Linked DNA regions of Homo sapiens: region 1 is linked to region 2. Evidence: promoter capture Hi-C in 16 types of primary human blood cells and fetal thymus (Javierre and others, 2016). All regions are on one chromosome and are shown on one strand. The core of a region is centred on a gene start or on the middle of the fragment in contact, and the rest is flanking DNA. Distances in the headings are between cores, read along the strand shown. Region 1 holds the start of GP2 (glycoprotein 2). Region 2 holds the start of GPR139 (G protein-coupled receptor 139).

The links. Contacts are between HindIII fragments. The CHiCAGO score rates a contact against its expected background, and 5 or more counts as called.
Region 1: the fragment with the promoter of GP2 here is called in contact with the fragment with the promoter of GPR139 in region 2 in 3 of 17 cell types (M0 macrophages, M1 macrophages and endothelial precursors); the score reaches 8.1 in M0 macrophages.

What each region holds. Positions count from the first base shown.
Region 1 is chr16:20,325,276-20,328,778 of GRCh38, forward strand. GP2 (glycoprotein 2) reads right to left here and starts at 2,238. Exons shown (of 11, transcript NM_001502.4): 1 at 2,192-2,238; 2 at 1,063-1,192. The coding sequence starts at 1,156. The HindIII fragment of the contact is 1,228 bases long and covers 1,363-2,590 here.
Region 2 is chr16:20,072,195-20,075,433 of GRCh38, forward strand. GPR139 (G protein-coupled receptor 139) reads right to left here and starts at 1,696. Exons shown (of 2, transcript NM_001002911.4): 1 at 1,296-1,696. The coding sequence starts at 1,422. The HindIII fragment of the contact is 1,831 bases long and covers 1,177-3,007 here.

The sequences.
Region 1 (3,503 bases), core at 988-3,487, 250 kb after region 2:
GGTCATGACCTTTGTCATACATGTGTTTGCCTGTCCTATTATTGACTTAAAATGTTTCTTTCAATGATTATCTTTTAAGAATTAGTTTCATCTTAAAGAATAATATCTGTGATAACATAGATATCATGTGCTAGTTATATTTTTTAGATGTGCATAAAAAATAAACATACAGCCATTAAAAACTTGTTAAGAGTTTGCCAGGCACCCCCAGAACCATCTTGGAATATATACACCTCATTTGGGGAAAGAAAGCCTTAAACGATTGTTAGAGGATTAAATGTGATAATATGTGTAAAATGCCAAGCACAGCACCAGGGTCAAGCTAATTGTCTTCTCTAGTTCTATTTTGTTGAATGCTGTAGATGCCTGAAGAAGGAGCTAAGTGCACACACAGGATCATGTGCTTACAATACACATTAAAGGGGCTTTCTAAAAAAAAGAGATTTTCAAGCTTTGCACATGCTTATAATACACATTAGAAGGGCCTTTCAGAAAAAAAGATTTTCAAACTTTGCTCATGCATGTACTTATTTTAAGACAAGGAATCACTGCATTTGTTATTCTTAGATTGTATTTTTCCACTGGAGGCCTCCAATGAGCTCAGTACCCTCTCCCACCCTCCTCCAGGGGCTGAAATTTGCACTCTAATTCTAAGCCTGAGACTCCTTTCTGCAAGTATCTGAATTGCCCACTTCATAAAGAGATCACTTAATCTAGCCCTTTCAGGAAAAGGAGAAGGCACTTGCCAGCACAAGGTGACTGAGTTATGTATTTCTTGATCTTCTTTAATCTGGGGTCTCTAATCTCCCAAAGATATGGGCATGGGAAATTATGTTAACTGGCTCCCACTGCCCTTTCAGAGGAATTTCTGATTAGGCTCTTTGAGAGATTGTGACTTGATTTCCATTGTTTCTCATTATGTTTCCCTTGACTTCTAGCTCTGAGTTTTTGCTTTAGAACTGCCAATTCCTCTTCCTTACCTGAGCCACCTTCTCTGCACTTCTATCCTCACTTGCTAGGTCTTCCTTGACATCTGAGATGCCAGGTGAGCAGAATACTTACCTCGCTGCACTGCAGATGCCTGGGTCAGAATGCAGGAGACCAAGGCCAGCCACAGGAGGCCAGAGCCCACCATCCTTTCCATAAGGTGAGGCATGCAGGTCACTTTGCTGTATGCAGACTTCCCATGCAGCTATGGGAAAGAAAAGACCAAGATAAGATTAGGGCATAGGTCTATGTTCTTAGAAACAGATCCGTTGACTTCCTTCATAAAGAGCTGCATTGTTTCAAAGTAGGTGTGACTTATGGACAGATAGAGCGAGATAATGGGTGATAAAATTGACAGTAAGCAAACCAAAGGCAAGCTTAGAGCTGGCTAGTACTGCAGAATGTCCTAGAAAGGTCTCAGGATGGTCCCTGCTCAGGTGGAAGTAGAGGCTCTTTGGAGATTGGATAGAGAAAAAGGGATATGGTACCTGTGAATACCTGCACACAAAAGTAATGGCTGCCCTTTCTTAGTTTTATGCATTGGGTGCTGCTAAGAGCCCCCTGAAATGTCCTCTATGGATGTAGATTTCTGTGACTGTGGAACCATGCCAAACCGAGCCTCATGTTCCTTGCTCCTAGTACAGAATCTGGCACACAAGGAGTACTCAGTAGAGGATTAAGGATGAATAAATAAATCAATGGGGGTTGGGGGCGGTGGCGAGGCAGAAAGAAAGAGCTGCAAAAAAGCCTGCCAGCATTTGGATGGCATTTACTTTTCTGGGAAATACTTTCCCTAAATGGCCAAATCTTTGGATAACTTCCTACAACCTCTGGAAGACTTCAGTGGAAAATAGAGATCGGTTTCGGGCAGGGATACCATGAGTATGCTATGAGACAGCAGGGATAGGGAAGCACCCAGGATTGGTGATTCTTAGAGATGAGATCCCAATAGAGACCTAGTTCCCTGGTGGGAATATCTGGGACAAGGAAGAGGGTGGCGTCCGTAGGCCTGGAGCATCGCAGATGACTGGAAGCATGACTGAGTTGGACATAGAGTGGTACCTGGAGCACTTGACAATGGCCAGGGTCCAAACTACTTGCTGGGTTCTAAAAATTTCCAGAAACAAAGAATCCTAGCATGTCCAGTGGATCAAGATTTCCCAGGATTAGGAGGAAGCCTCCTGGGGCTTAAAGCAGGACTTACCTCCGATGAGAACACAAAGCGTTCCTCCTCTGGCCAGCCATGGGAATGCAGCCTGCTGTGGGCCGTCTTTTTATTGCAATTTCCCACCCATGTGTCTCTCCTCAATTGGTGCACAGGTATGATGGGAGTTCTAGGCCATACACTGGGCTTGTTGAGTGGAGGTGAGATAAGCCATTTACGCAAAGGATGGTGAAAGAAGGGCCCTCCCCTCACAATGTCAACCCTTCCAGCTGTCTCAGCATTGTGCGAATGCTTCCTACAAACAATAGTGCTGTGTGCTGAATGCTGAACATGCTGGGCACTGCTTTGCGTTCTTGACTTCTCACATTTAATCTTCATAATTAATCAATGAAACTGGTGCCATATTTATTACCAGAAACCAAACACGAATTGAAAGGAAGCTTAATACCCAAAGGGAAGTGAAGAGAAAATCAAACAGGCACTTGTTTGCACAATGGATTTTCAGTTGTACCTTGTGTTCCTAGCTAATCATCTTGGAACATTTCTGCTTCTGTCTGAAGGCCACTGAGCTTGGGGCCAGTTAGACTAAGAGGACACATAGGAAAGGAAAGAAGGGAGTGTGGATGTTTCGAAAAATTCCATTTATTGGTCCATAGAATCTACCCAACTCCGGATTTCTAATGCTGAGCAGTTTTGGAATGGCTAATTTGGTGATGATGGATTTTGGAATGGCAAAGGACAGACAAAGGTTCTTGGACAAAAGAAGCACCAGAGTAGCCCCTGTAAATCCCTTTTGATATGTAGGCTGCCCTAGAGATTGGAAGGCATGAGACTGAGAAGAGGCTGTAGAGGATCTTGGACTTATTAACTCCAGGCTTGGACCTGGCTTTCATGACATGGTAGAAATCATGGACTTCATAAAAGAGCCAAAGCTTTTGCAGAAAAAATGGCCACTGCTTCTTCTCTGTCACTCTGGGACTCCTTAAGGAGCCAAGGCAACTGGAGTCAAGGGAGCAGGAGGGTCTTGGCATTGGTAACACCTTCTACAAAACCTCAACCTGGAAAAAGAAAAGGTGCTACAAGCCACCTTCTCTACTCCCAGAGCAACTGGAGAATAAATAGTCTCTAAAATGTGGAACTTGTGACAACTGGGCCCACTAAATCACCTACTGATCCATTCAGTCTGGCCAGGTGCCCATCCCAGTCTCCCCAGTGGCCACTCTTAACCTTCCCATTCCTCTTAAATGGTCTCTGCAGCTATTATCACCCACTCACACCACCTTTCTCAGCAGATATCTGGTACCCTACTTCAAAAACAATTTAGGCCACAACACCTGACCTTGCTCCTTCC
Region 2 (3,239 bases), core at 446-2,945:
GAATAAAAGCCTCATCACTGGCTTGGGGAGAGAGGCTCACACATTAGTAAACTTGCGCTTTCTCATGCCTGCCAAATTTGGGAGGGGGGATTTATTGAAACAATCTCATCAGGGGCCCTGACTGCCAAGTTGAATGTTTGGGAAAGGAAATCTCAGCCAGGCTCTCAGAAATCCAGCTCCCAAGTTCCCAGGATCGCAAGATGCTAAGGTTCGCAGACTAAGAGATGACTAGGGAGATGATGCTAAGATTTCAGGCTGTACACTGGATTTTTTTTCTCTCTTTCTCTCTGCTTCTTTCAGTCCCTCTCTCCTCTCTGCATGCAAGTAATCTTTAGGGATCTATTTGTCACCAAGACTGCCTGCAAGGAGGGTCCACCCAAAGCTGGAGCCCCAGGAAAAAAGCTTTCTCTCTCTCTCGCTCTCTCTCGCACACGGCCCAGGCAAGCACTCCCTCCTTCTCGGCAGCTCAGCTCTCTTCAGGAATTCAGGACAAGTCTCAGCCACACTTTGGAAAGGACATTAAGATGTGGGACCAGCCAGACATCCACAGCAGCCGTGAGCTGCCCAGGGTGGGTAGACCTGGAGGCCAAGCCAGGGGGCCAGGCATGTCCTCAAGGAGACTGTGACCCCCTGAGGTGGCAGCCACCGCAGGCTGCCCTGTGTGTCTCTGCACCCTTGCCCTGGCCAGGGCATGGTCCCAGAGCCAACCCCTGATTCTCCTTAGCCAGCTGGGAGACCCTTTTCTTGCTAGGCATTCTTTCTCCATTCCAGTGCCCCCCGAGCAAGAGAGTGCTCAATGTCAGGGTCTCCAGCTTCATCTCGTGTCAGGCGGGGACACGCAGAGGGGCAGAGGTGCCCCAAGTGGGGTGGACGTGCAGGGGCCACGGGAGAAGGGAAGCCTCCACGAAGCCTTCTGTCCAGAACATGCAGTCAAGCCAAACACACACAAAGCCCTCTACGCCCCCACCCCATGAAAGCCGCCCCCTCCAGATGCGCGCACAAATGCACCTTCGAATCCATGCTCACATGCCCAGCCCATCGCCCGCCGTCACAGTCATCACACACACACACACACACACACACACGCTCGCGCGCGCACACACACACACACGGTCCCCAGCTAGGGCACAGCAACTTCCTTTCCCCCCGTGTGGAAATATCCATAGTTGCCCTTAAAGCTTAAACTTTTTCCGAGGGGGCGCCAGGGAACGCACGGGGGAGGACGGGGGATTCTGGGTAGGGTTGCCCGGCACTTGGGGTTCCTGGCTTCCCTCCCTCTCCCCCACGCCCCTCACCTGGTAAACCGAGGCACAGCAAGAGGCTGTAGTAGACCACGGGCACGAAACCCAAGCCGCAGGCCGAGCCGGGGGACCACCAAGACAGCGAGCTGTTGGCTGCGAGGTGGGCGTGCGTGTGCTCCATGAGCGCGCCCCTCGCTCCCCTTGCCGCTTCGCGCCCGGCCTGCCAGCCCGACTCTGGTCGCCGGCTCGGTGGTGGCGGCGGCGGAGGCAGCGGCAGCTGGAGCAGCAGCGCCTCTCTCCCCGCAGGACTGGCTCCTACCCTTGGCCGTGATCCCCTCTGCTCGCTCCGCACCTGCCCGCCTGGAGTCTTGGCTCAGCCCTCCCGCAGGGCGCGGGGCGCAGGGTGCGGGGCGCGCTGCGCGGGGCCTCGGGAGGGGCTCCCGGAGCCCGTCTGTGCGCCTCCCACCTCGGACCCGCTCCACTCCCGCCTCAAAGCCGGGGGGCTGGGACGCCGCTCCCCGCAGCCAATCAGCGGCTGCCTGGAAGCGGAGTGTGTGTGGGGTGGGAGGGATGCGGAAGAGGAGGGGGTCCCAGCCGCCTCGCTTGGCTCCACTTTCAGGGGAGAAGATGCAGTTAGACCTGGGAGCCCCGAAGGAAGACCGGAGTGGAAAACAGGCTATCCCCAATCTCCAACCCCGAGGGAGGGGCGTGGTGTGGGTAGGATCTGCCTCTCCCGCAGCGGCTCCTCACTCCTCCAGCGTGTCCTCAGTTTGCCTTTCTCCACTCTCCTCGCAGCCACCTCTCTTGCCCCTCTCCAATGCTTCCAGTCCATCTCCGGATAGAGGATTCTATACCTAGGGCAAAGAACGGGGGAAGGGGTGGGGCTGTTGGAGCAGCGAGGATGCTAAAGCGTTGTCGGTTTTCCTCGACAAGGGAAGCTGAGCTTGCTGGCTCTGGAAAGAGGGGTGCGTGCCTCCCTGTGCGTGTGTGTGGCGACTCTGGGGGTGGCCGCCGGTGAACTGTCCCCTAACTGGAGTGCGTTTGAAGAGGATACAGACTGGCTAAGAGAAGCCCCTCCTGCATGCCGCCCTTCAGTCAGGAATAAGGATGTTGCAGACACTCAAACACGCACTCGCCCACGCTCACACAAAGACACACAATACCCAGGCATGCGGTGTACTCACACGCTCACTCAGGCACGCGGATGCTCTCCCATCCCACACCCAGACCCTTGAAAACACGCAGGCATCCTCATCACCATGCACAAGACCACACTCACAGGGCGCTCCAAACATACGAAAACGCACGCGGGAGTCATGGGGGCTTGTCGAGAGTGCTTGAAGGTTGTGTGAAGGGTAGCATTTGTAAGGCAGGTGGGATCCAAGCAATGTGTGGGTGGGTGGTCCTTTCTCCTCAGGGCAGGCAGGTGGAGGGTTCCGGGTGTGGCCACCACAGACTTGAGGAGAAAGAGAGGAGAGAAAGAGAGAGAGAGAGAGAGAGAGGAGAGAGAGGAGAGAGAGAGAGAGAGAGAGAGGGACATAGTGTCTGTCTGGGGCTCAAGACAGTGAGTGTGAGAGAGTTAAAGATTCTGCAGGAACACCCAGGCCAGGCATCCCCAGGAGCAGACTGTAGCAGCTGCCTATGCAAAGAGCTGTGATGGGTCTGAGAAGCCTAAGACCCCCCGCCCTCAAACCCCCCACTCCCGCTGCTTCCCAACGCCCCTCACCCCTATATCACATCCATTCCTGGAGAGAAGGAACTGGCTAAGCTTTCCCCAGCCTCTTCCAGGTCTCCCAACGTGGAGCAGACCCCTGTCCCTCAAGACCAGCAAAGAGCATGTATCCAGTTCTTGTCTTTGTTAGAGGTTACCCCAGGCAGGGATGGGGGACACTCTAGGGCAGAGTGGAAATCTCCAAAGCATACAGAGTCAGGCAGTCTGCATAAGGGGGGCATCTACTGGATCTAGCTGGGTCTGTGGTAAGCAAGGAGGCACGTGGC